Regions from separate parts of the Homo sapiens genome. Here all the other regions are linked to region 3. The links are contacts of gene promoters, found by promoter capture Hi-C in blood cells and fetal thymus (Javierre and others, 2016). All regions are on one chromosome and are shown on one strand. Each heading gives the region's core, a stretch centred on a gene start or on the middle of the fragment in contact. The rest is flanking DNA. Distances are from core to core; before and after follow the strand shown.

Region 1 (3,542 bases), core at 107-2,606, 360 kb before region 3:
TTAGTAGAGACCAGGTTTCGCCATGTTGGCCAGGCTGGTCTCGAACTCCTGACCTCAGGTGATCCACTTGCCTCAGCCTCCCAAAGTACCATTTCTAATTTGAGATAAAGCAGAGAAAATAGGCAGCACTAACAATTAAATCTGATGAGCCTTTTGCAGGCCTAAGAAGCGGTAAACACTGTACTAAATGCCTTACATACATTATCTTGTTTATTTATTTTTTGAGACAGAGTCTCACTCTTTGGCCCAGGCTGGAGTGCAGTGGCGTGATCTTGGCTCACTGCAACCTCTGCCTTCCAGGTTCAAACGATTCTTGTGCCTCAGCCTCCCGAGTAGCTGGGACTACAGGTGCATGGGACCATGTCCAGCTAATTTTTGTATTTTCAGTAGAGACGGGGTTTCACCATGTTGGCCAGGCTGGTCTTGAGCTCCTGACCTCAAGTGATCCACCCAACTCAGCCTCCCAAAGTGCTGGGAGTACAGGTGTGAGCCACTGTGCCTGGCCTATCTTATTTAAAAACAACTCTTCCACAAGGGAATTATTCTGATTTTAGAGATGAGAAACACTGGAAGAGTCTGCTACTTGTTGAAGGCTTCTACAGCTTAAGTGGCAGCGTTAGGATTTAAACCTAGGTAGGTCTGACTTCACAGCCCACATTCCACTCCTTCCATTATTGCCTACTACCACAGTAAAAAATTCTGGCTCCAGTTAAACTTAATTGCCACAATTCCCAACAGCTACTGATGTAAATCCTCAAATAGTTCTCTAAAATTTAAAAATAGTACTGTCATTTTATGATACTACGCAATTTAAAAATTCATGAGAGCCATTATTATTTTCTTTTCATTATACTGCTTTGTAAATACTCTTTTAAAAAACAAAACAAAAAAAAAAACAAAACAAATGCGAGAAAGCTTGAAGTACAAGAATTTCAAGGGCCAACTCTTTTATCTGGAAAATCCCTAGAATAAAACATTTAGGATGTTTATCTAACTAGCAGTAGCTAAGCAACAATGCAAAGTCACATCTTAGGAGCCCTTTGGGTAGCAACAGTTTCTCTACAGAGTTAATGTAGTAAATCAATTCCATCATTTTATACAACAGAGATTAAGGAGAGAAGAGGAGACCCACCCTTTCTCCCACCTTTGAAAGGGAAAATCAACATTAAGAGTTAAAATTCCTAATTCTTAGGTAGAAGTTAGAAATATTTAAAATATGATTCAGTTTGGACCCAATCCATAAGTTATCTAAAGAAATATAAGTTTGAGGAGACAAAAATTTCAGCTTGAACATGTATTCCATCACAGAGCTGAATTCTGGAAATATGAATTGGGCAGGTAAAAGCCACTCGTAGGGGAACCGCTGGATTGAGAATAGTTCTAGGCAGAAGAAAGAGCATGAACAATGGCCTGAGACGTCATTATGCTTTTAAGGTGTTACATATAAATATTAATCTCTTAAAGTTTTTTTGTGTATGTTTGTGTTTAATAACAAATACTTAAAAAATCTAGGTGAGCCTAGGGCCTACACTGAAATTAAGTGTTGAATCTAGTATCAGTGAATATTTATAAGATATTTGAATAGCTTATCCTTTGATTTGAAATATTACCTTTATCATATTCTATATTGCTACATGAAATTCTAGACTATATTCTGTACAGGAATAGTTGGGTAAGTCTCCATTTTGTTCTCACATGTTTCTTGTTAGGTCTACTTTTAGGTACTTTTAAGTTTCCATTATGAATGGGGTCTGTTTTACTATGATATTTTCTGAAAGGCTATTGCTCGTGTTGTTAAAAGCTTTAAAATGTCCTAAGTTGATTTTGCATCCCGTCATTTTTTTTGCAGAACTCATATAAGTTTTAATAGTTTTTCAGTTGACTTACTTGAATTACCTAAGTAGATAACAGACACTGCTGCAAAATCTGTTCTTCATATCTTTTTGTCTTTTTACATTGGCTATTTACTTGGATAAAATAAGGTTAGAACAGATCACTCACAAAAATACACTACAGATTAAAGAGCCAAATGTAAAATATCCATAAAAATCCATGAACTCTGGAAAAATAGCAGAAAAAAGAATACAACTAGCTTAGACAGGTATAAAAATGCTTGATGGGGCTGGGTGTGATGGCTCACGCCTATAATCCCAGCACTTTGGGAGGCCGAAGGGGGTGGATCACCTGAGGTCAGGAGTTCGAGACTAGCCTGACCAACATGGTGAAACCCCGTCTCCACGAAAAATACAATAATTAGCTGGGTGTAGTAGTGGGTGCCTGTAATCCCAGCTACTCGGGAGGCTGAGGCAGGAGAATGGCTTGAACCCAGGAGGCGGAGGTTGCAGTGAGCCAAGACTGCGCCACTGCACTCCAGCCTGGGCGATAAGAGTGAAATTCCGTCTCAAAAAAAAAAAAAAAAAAAAGTATTACATATAGTAGTGTGGATTGCAACAGGTAATCACAGTATGTTAAGTGGTCCCTGGATAGTGAATGATGGTTCTCTGTAGTTTATATTTTGGTGGGCTACAGTTGTTTCATATCAACTTATAAATGGCCAAAAAAAAAAAAAAAAAAGATAAGCACAGATTTCCTGAATCCTTATATGGAAAAGTGAGTCAAAGGTCAAAGCGTATGGTGAGAAAGGACAGTCTCTTCAACAAAGGAAGCTGGAACAATATCCATATGGATAAGAAGCTCACTGTTAAACCATACACAAAAATCAATTTCAGATGGTTCACAGAATTCAACTTAAAATGCAAAATAAGGCTACTAGAAGAAAACAAATTATTTTCATACCCTCACTGTAGGCAAAGATTTCTCAGCAGCCAGGTGCAGTGGCTCACACCTGCAATCGCAACACTTTGGGAGGGAGATCACTTGAGGTCAGGAATTTGAGACCAGCCGGGCACTCCAGCCTGGGCCACACAGCAAGACTCTGTCTCAAAAAACAAAACAAAAATCTCAGAAAAGATGCAAAAAGCACAAATTGTAAATGAAAAACTTGATGAACTGCATTTCTCCAAAACAAAACTTCTGTTCATCAAATACCATAGCTGGGCACCGTGGCTCACACGTATAATCTCAGCACTTTGGGAGGCCAAGGCAAGCTGACTGTTTGAACCCAGGAGTTTGAGACCAGCCTGGACAACATGGTGGTGAAACCCCGTTTCTATAAAAAATAGAAAAATTAGCTGGGCATGGTGGTGCATACCTGTAGCCCAAGGTATTTGGGAGGCTGAGATGGGAGAATCACCTGAGCCCGAGGAGGGTAAGGCTGCAGCAGGCCATGATGGTTCCACTGCATTCCAGCCTGAGCAAGAGTAAGACACTGTCTCAAAAACAAACCAAAAAAAAAAAAAAAAACTCTCAAAAACCAAAAAGAAAAATGAAAAAAATGAAGTCAAGCCACGAACTGGAAAAAAATATTCACAACGCGTATCTGACAATGGATTTGCATCTAGAGTAAATTAAAAAATTCCTGTATGTCAATAAAAAAAAAATCCAATTAAAGTTGGGCAGAAGAATTGAATGAACACATTAAA
Region 2 (3,684 bases), core at 805-3,304, 260 kb before region 3:
TGTAGTTTCAGCTTCTTGAAGATTAAATCACACTCTCCACACAGACAGTGATTTCACGTAGCGCACCTTTCCCCTTGCAACACTAAGGAATTGAACATGCGTATCTCCTCATCAGTTCCCATTTTCTAAGGCTATGTTGGGAAGTGCTCCTACCTTTGATGGCCTCAAAAGAAGCCTGCAGGCTTTGAAAACTTTGGGGATTTTACTGTTGATTACTCTGGGGATTATGATACCGTAACACAAATGGCAAACATACAGGGATTACAAAGTTTAGAAAATATCATGATGTTCTTATAAATGTTACCTTAACTTGTATTGGATCATCCTCAGAAGGTAACTGGAAGGTCATTTAAATTTGATTCTTTTCTCACTTTTAGAAAAAGAATATGCTGACTCCCTTATTCTAAGACAGCTCTCAGAGGCTCTTCAAACACAGCCATGTCTCATGTAGGTGACTCACATTTCTGAGGAACTCTGGAATAGGCCCAATTTCACTGTCCCCTGCCACACAGAAATCATGATTGTTGGGGCATATCTTCACACTCCCACTTAGGTTTCTCTCATCCTGCTAAGGCTTCCTTTAGGTCATTGATATGTATCAGTTTTAATTTGAGTGGTCTGAACTCACTAAAATGGCGACTTGGTAGCCAGGCTCACACCTGCAATTTTACTCTAACAGCTTAATTTCCTTACCTTACGTTTTATTCTCTGTTAAAGTAATCCAGGGGATGAGGTGTTAGCATAAGTTATGCTTCAGTATAAAAATGCGGAATAGAAGGGATAGAAAAGGGCAGTGAACATCTGTGGAGTAGAAAAGGGTTCCAGCTAGAGGTGAAAGCATGCATTCACTTTCTGGGATCCAGCCTGCCGTGATTACCTTCTTAGGCCTTCAATACTTCGTGAGCCTAAGGGCAGCTAGTAGTCCTGTTTGAAGAGGATACTTCTCCAGGTCTAGGCTTGAACAAATATGCCTGGGAGACTCCTATGACTCTAGCATATTAGATAGATGCTCCAAGAAACACTAGGACAGACTTTCTTTTGATTTCTTGTAAGGGTGAAAAAAAAAAACTAAAATATTACAACACAGATTATGCTGAACACATTCCCATTATCTTCCAGAGTGGTCTATTAAAATGCATTTCCATTTTATTTTCTTCATGATAGTTTTAATTATATTAAGCTGATCCAGAGGAAACTTCTGGATTATAACTTTAATTTCTACCTTAAACCTAAACTTTCTGCTACTCATGAACTTTAGCTTTTGAAAATATCATCCACTGCAAAACCTTTATGGAGAAAAATTTAAGTTTACTAGAGAATGTATTAGTCAGGGTTCTCCAGAGAAACAGAAGCAAAAGGATACTTACATATCTACACCTATCTATCTATCTAGAAAGTTTTTCTTTTTTTTTTTTTTTGGATGGAGTCTTGCTTTGTCACCCAAGCTGGAAGGCAGTGGCGCAATCTCGGCTCACTGCAACCTCCACCTCCTGGTTTCTAGCGATTCTCCTGCCTCAGCCTCCAGAGTAGCTGGGATTAAAGGCATGTGCCATGACGCTGGGCTAATTCTTGTATTTTAAGTAGAGATGGGGTTTCATCATGTTGGCCAGGCTGGTCTTGAACTCCTGACCTCAGGAGATCCACCCGCCTCAGCTTCCCAAAGTCCTGGGATTACAGGCATGAGCTACTGTGCCCGGCTGAAAGAGATTTATTATAAGATATTGGCTCATGCAATTATACGGAATGAGAAGTCCCACAGTTTGCTGTCTGCAAGCTGGAGACCTAGGAAAAGCCAGTGACGTAGTTCAAGGCCTGAGAACCAGGAGTGCCAAGGGCAGGAATTGATGTTTCAGCTCAAGCAGTCAAGCAGAGAGAGGATAATCCAAACTTCCTCCACCTTCTTGTTCTATTTAGGCCTTCCACGGATTGAATGATGTCCACCCACATTGGGGAAGGCCATCATCTTTACTCAGTCCACCAATTCGAGTACTAACCTCTTCTGGAAACACCCTCATAGACACACCCAGCAATAGTGTTTAATCAGATATCTGAGCATACTGTGGCCCAGGCAAATTGGTACATAAAATTAACTATCACAAAGGACACGAAAGAACAGCTGAAGAAATGAAGAAATCTAACATATTTATGGAAGCAAATGCTTGATAGAAAGATGTGAATTCTCCATAAATTAAATTATGAATTTAATGCAGTTCTAATAAAAATCCCAACATTATTGTGTGGAACTTAACAAACAGATTCTAAGAACTTCTAGCCAAGACATTCTAAAAAAGAAGCAGGAGGTGGGGATTTCTCTATCAGATATAAAGACATTTTTAAAAAGTTGTATAAATAAAACTGTACTACTGACACAGAATAGATAATTAGATCTGGGAACAGATTATATTTATAGGGACTTTCCATATACCCGTTGGAAAAGGGTAAATTCAATAAATGGCATTGCCAAAATTCACCTTCCTTATGGAAAAAAAATAAAATGAAATGTCTAATTCACATTTTTGAGTAGTTAAATTTCCAAAAAAGTTAAATTTCAAATGGATTACAGGTCTAAATGTGAAAAGCAAAACTTCAAAACTATTATAAGAAAATCTACTTAAAACTATTAGGAGAACAGCTTTATGATCTCAGGGCAAAATATTAGGCAAACAAGACACAAACAACAAAAGTATGAAATAAAAAAAGAGATAAATTTTGTTACATCCAAAACTTCAAACTTTGCTTGGGCGCAGTGGCTCAGGCCTGTAATCCCAGCACTTTGGGAGGCTGAGGTAGGTGGTAGCACTTGAGCTCAGGAATTTGAGACCAGCCTGGGCAACGTGGTGAAACCTTGTCTCTACTAAAAATACAAAAATTAGCTGTGCGTGGTGGTGTGCACGAGTGGTCCCAGCTACTCAGGGGGCTGAGGTGAGAGCCCAGGGGGCTGAGGTGAGCCCAGGAGGCAGAGGTTGCAGTGAGCCAGGATCATGCCACTGCACTCTACCCTGGGAGGGAGAGCCAGACCTTGTTTCAAACAACAACAACGACGACGACGACGACGACGACAACGAAAAACTTCCAACTCTTATTGTCAAAAGAAAAAAATACCATTAACAAAGATAAAAGTTAAGTGTCTGTCTGAGAGGTGTTTTCAGTTATAACAAACAATTGATATCCAGAAAATGTTTTCTTAAAATTTTATAAATCAATTAGCAAAGTTAAAAAAATCTAATGGGATAGGCAATAGGCCATTCTTAGCCTTCAGGTCTTGGCTTAAAATTCACTACCTATCGGAACCCTGACTTTCAGTCGGGGTAATTATATCACAATACTTTTCACTCTTAAATCATTTTTCCTTGTTGAACACCTAGACAGTGAACTCCTAGAGAGGAGGAAACAAATCTGAGGTGTTTTTTCTCTCCACTTTTGAGTCTCAGCTTCTTGCACATAATAGGTGTTCGATAAATATATGTCGAAAGACTGATGGAGTAAATGAATAAACCTGAGTCCCTCCTTGACCCTTGCGTACTGCACAGGCATAGCCCTCTCTTTGCTGTGCAAATCTAGAGGGTGGATGTTGGAACTCACAACCAAATTCATTTCAGGTAGTAAGCTGAGGGGTAGTCTGGTCACTCCTTGCCCTCAAGTTTTCTCCTGTATCCTAGGAGATTATGTTTCCTCAGGAGAAGT
Region 3 (3,364 bases), core at 25-2,524:
CACACACTCTGAACTCCACCTGCATCAGGTGGCCTTTCTGCTCCCATAACTAGGACGTTTCCAAATGCACCCCCAAATAAGGTACAATTCCCCAACATCCTAGTTACGGGGTTCTGGCTTCTATCTTTAGGCTACTGGAGGACCAGAAGCGAAATACGACTCCACGTGAAACCAATCCCGGGAGCGGTCAGCACGGACCGCCAACCTCACCCGCTCAGGGTGTTCGCTCTAACTCCACGGGAGTGGCGATTTCAAACCCGGCCGGGAGAGGGAGGGATCAGGAACGTAATGTGACGGGCTCAAGTGACAGCGTCCTCTCTCCAGCCCAACCCTCCCGGGCGGCGCTCCCTCCCGGTGGCAGCGCAGCGCTGGCGCCGGCCAGGTACATTCACGCCTAGCTCCCCTGAGTGTGGATACACGGCCCGCTCCAAGAACGGGGTCAGATCCAGCCCTCGCGCCCCAGTCCGGTCCCAGCGCCCTCTCTGGGAAAGGCGGGCGCGGGCGCGGGGGTGGGAGGCGCCCCCAGGTGTTTTGGCGGGTTTCCGGACACGTGCGCCCGGCGTCCTCCCCGCTTCCCCGCAGCCGGGGCAGAGCCCACCGCACCAGCTCGCGGAGCAGCCGAGCCGCCCGTTACGCCGCTCACCTCCGTCCCCGTAGGTCTCCACGCCGTACCCGTCTTGCAGCCCGTTACTCCAGGTACCCTCGTAGCGAGCGGGGGTGCACAGGCTCTGCCGGACCCCGTAGCGCCCCTTGAAACCATGTGACCACTCCCCCCGGTACATCCACTTGCCCTTCGTCTCCACCCCCAGCCCGTGCCGCTTGCCCTGCGCCCAGTAGCCCTGGTAGGTGTTGCCGCTGGGCCAGGTGTAGCCTCCGACCACCTCGAAGCCGTGCGACCAGGAGCCCGAGTACTCGCCCTGGCCCTTGGGCCCCGTGCAGATGCCATGCCCGTGCGCCTTGCCCTCCTCCCAGCCGCCGCAGTAGGTGCCGCCATCGTCGAAGTCGAACCTTCCGCCCGTCATTCGGGGGGCAGCCCCGGCGCGCTCCCCGCAGGGGCACGGACGCGGGCAGTGCTGGGCACGGCAGGGTGTAGCTCGGGGGTGGGGGCCCGGCGGGCGAGCTCACGACAGCGCCCTGGGCAGCTCGCGCTGCCGCTCGGCTCCAGTCCGACGCCGCCCCCGTCCTCCCTCCTCTTTTGCCGCCGCCACCGCCGCCTTCCTCCTCCTCCTCCTCCTCCTTCGCCGCCGCCGCCTGGGCCAGCGCCGCGCGCGAGAGGACAGCCCAGGTTCCCGAGCGGACCTTCAGCTGCTCCCGCCCGCCCACGTGAGCCGGGCACCGCCCCGCGCCCGCCCCTCGTCCCCTCCCCGGGCGCCGAGGCCCGGCCCCGCGGCGCTCCCGCCCCACCGGGCCCTGCCCCCAGCCCCGGGAGCCGCCGCTTCCTCGGCAGGCGGGCGCGCGCGGGGACCGGCTGGCGCGCATGTGTTCGCGCAGTGGGATGCCGGTGGGAGGGCGAGTGTACCCGGGGACGCACGAGAATCCCTGCCTGGAGATGAAGGCGCGGCTGCCTGTGTGGGGGCCGCTCGCGGGCGCCGGAGCCCCCGGTGTTTGTGTTTGGGGTTTTTCAAAGTGGTTAAGCTCCTGTGAGTGCGGCCACGTGTGTGTTGAGGGAAAACTCATTGTATGCGTGTTTGTCTGCATGGGGTTTGTAGTTGCATTGTTTTCGCATTCCAACTTGTGTACTGTTGCATTTGTCATGCTCAGCTGTCATCGTGAATTAATATCGCCTAGATATATGTATGCATGTGATGTAAATCTGCGGCAGCCTAGATATAATTGTGCAGAGTGTTCTTTTACACCTACCCGTTTCAAAGCACACGTGTTTGCATTTATTTAATGAAGACACTGAGGGTGAGCAGTACAGTTTGAAAAAGCACAGAATATATTGGTTAGTTTTTTATTAATAGTGATGAAGAGGATGTTTTCAATCGGCCTTTGCAGTGGTACAGGATATTCCTTTTACATTAGAGCCTGCCCCCTCTCGTGCCTCGTTTGTGCTTCTTAACAGCCTTAGAGATTCTTGAGCCTGGAGCTGTGTGCCCAACAGGTAGACGGCTCGGTCTGTGTACATTGTATAAGTGTCTGGAATGCACACCTCTCCACTGGTATCCACTGTTTAAGAAAGTAAATAGAGGTTTGCAAGGAGGAATATGGTAAGTAAAGCACTGCTCTAAACTTGCAAAGAAACTGTGACCTACAAAACCAGGGACAGATGTCAGCTGGTCTACTTTCTAGCTACAACACTGCTTTGTCGAATTCACTTTAGGCAACTCTTCTAAACTTTTAAACCTCCATTTCACCATCTTCTGAATGGGACTAACAAGATTTGCCTTTCTCTTTCTATATTCGGTAATAACTGAGTATATTGTGGCTGCAGTGCCAAACCAAAAATTAGAGATTTGGTAATAGGCAAGTTGGATCAGCATTGCCTCTGGTGAGAGAAAGCATTATTCTCCACCTCACCCTCAAAATACCCACGGGAGAAACTTCTCCCACTTTCACAGCCTAGGGTCTTAGTTTGGCCTCTCAAGGAAACTGATTTGGAGTGTATTCCTGCTATTTCTTAGGCTGAGAGGCCTTTGGGTGACTATGCGAGCATCAGAAGCTGCCAAAGGTTCTCTCACTAAGTATTTGATAATCAGATATAGATATAAGGACAGGTGTCAGGAAGACAGCCTGGGAAAAAGTAGACTAAACTGCACAGAAAAGGAACTGAAATTGACCTTGATTGCCTCTCTCTCAGGACGAGAGCCGACCTTTCCTACTTATCTGGCTGAAAGACTGAAAGAAAAATCTCAGTTTATGCAGAACCAAATCACCAAAGAGAATTAGAAGCCCTCATCCATGGCACTGCCCGCAGAGTTGCCAGGAATAGTGCTTACCCTAGTGGCCTGAAATAATTATGCATCTCTCGAAGCATCTTGTCCTGGACTGGGGATTGATTTAGGCCGCTGGGAAGATGAGGGCCAGGGCTTTGCGGCTGAGCCATAATTCCATTTCCCTGTTATGGGATACACCAGAATCAGGAGCTAATGTAGAAAGATGCATTCCCATATATTTTGAGGTTCTGTATGATATGAGAAAAAGTGTGGTTGCTCAAGCCAATATTTTGAATGGGGGAGTCTCTTTCTAAACTAGACTTCCTCATAGAGTAGTCTTTGTCCCTTTGCCTTTTTTTTTTTTTTGGATCCACCCAGTGTGTTAGGACCCATATATGTTCTTTAAGGGGATAAATTTTGGAAACCTTTATCTCTTTATTTATTACTCTTCCTAATTAGTTGTCATGCAAATGAGGGATTTTCTGGAA

What was found. The method cuts DNA at HindIII sites, captures the fragments that hold promoters and counts their contacts. A CHiCAGO score of 5 or more calls a contact.
Region 1: a contact is called between a fragment that was not itself captured here and the fragment with the promoter of JPH1 in region 3, in 1 of 17 cell types (fetal thymus). The highest score is 5.4, in fetal thymus.
Region 2: a fragment that was not itself captured here is called in contact with the fragment with the promoter of JPH1 in region 3 in 1 of 17 cell types (fetal thymus); the score reaches 5.6 in fetal thymus.

What each region holds. Positions count from the first base shown.
Region 1 is chr8:73,961,691-73,965,232 of GRCh38, forward strand. All of the region lies in intron 1 of ELOC (elongin C), which reads right to left. Among named protein-coding and RNA genes, the nearest start is that of ELOC, 8.7 kb to the right of the region's middle. The HindIII fragment of the contact is 886 bases long and covers 914-1,799 here.
Region 2 is chr8:74,057,121-74,060,804 of GRCh38, forward strand. It overlaps a transcript of LY96 not described here. Among named protein-coding and RNA genes, the nearest start is that of LY96, 68 kb to the left of the region's middle. The HindIII fragment of the contact is 7,541 bases long and covers 1-3,684 here.
Region 3 is chr8:74,320,266-74,323,629 of GRCh38, forward strand. JPH1 (junctophilin 1) reads right to left here and starts at 1,275. Exons shown (of 6, transcript NM_020647.4): 1 at 644-1,275. The coding sequence starts at 1,022. RefSeq lists an enhancer at 342-1,232 and a silencer at 1,326-1,425. The HindIII fragment of the contact is 5,373 bases long and covers 1-3,364 here.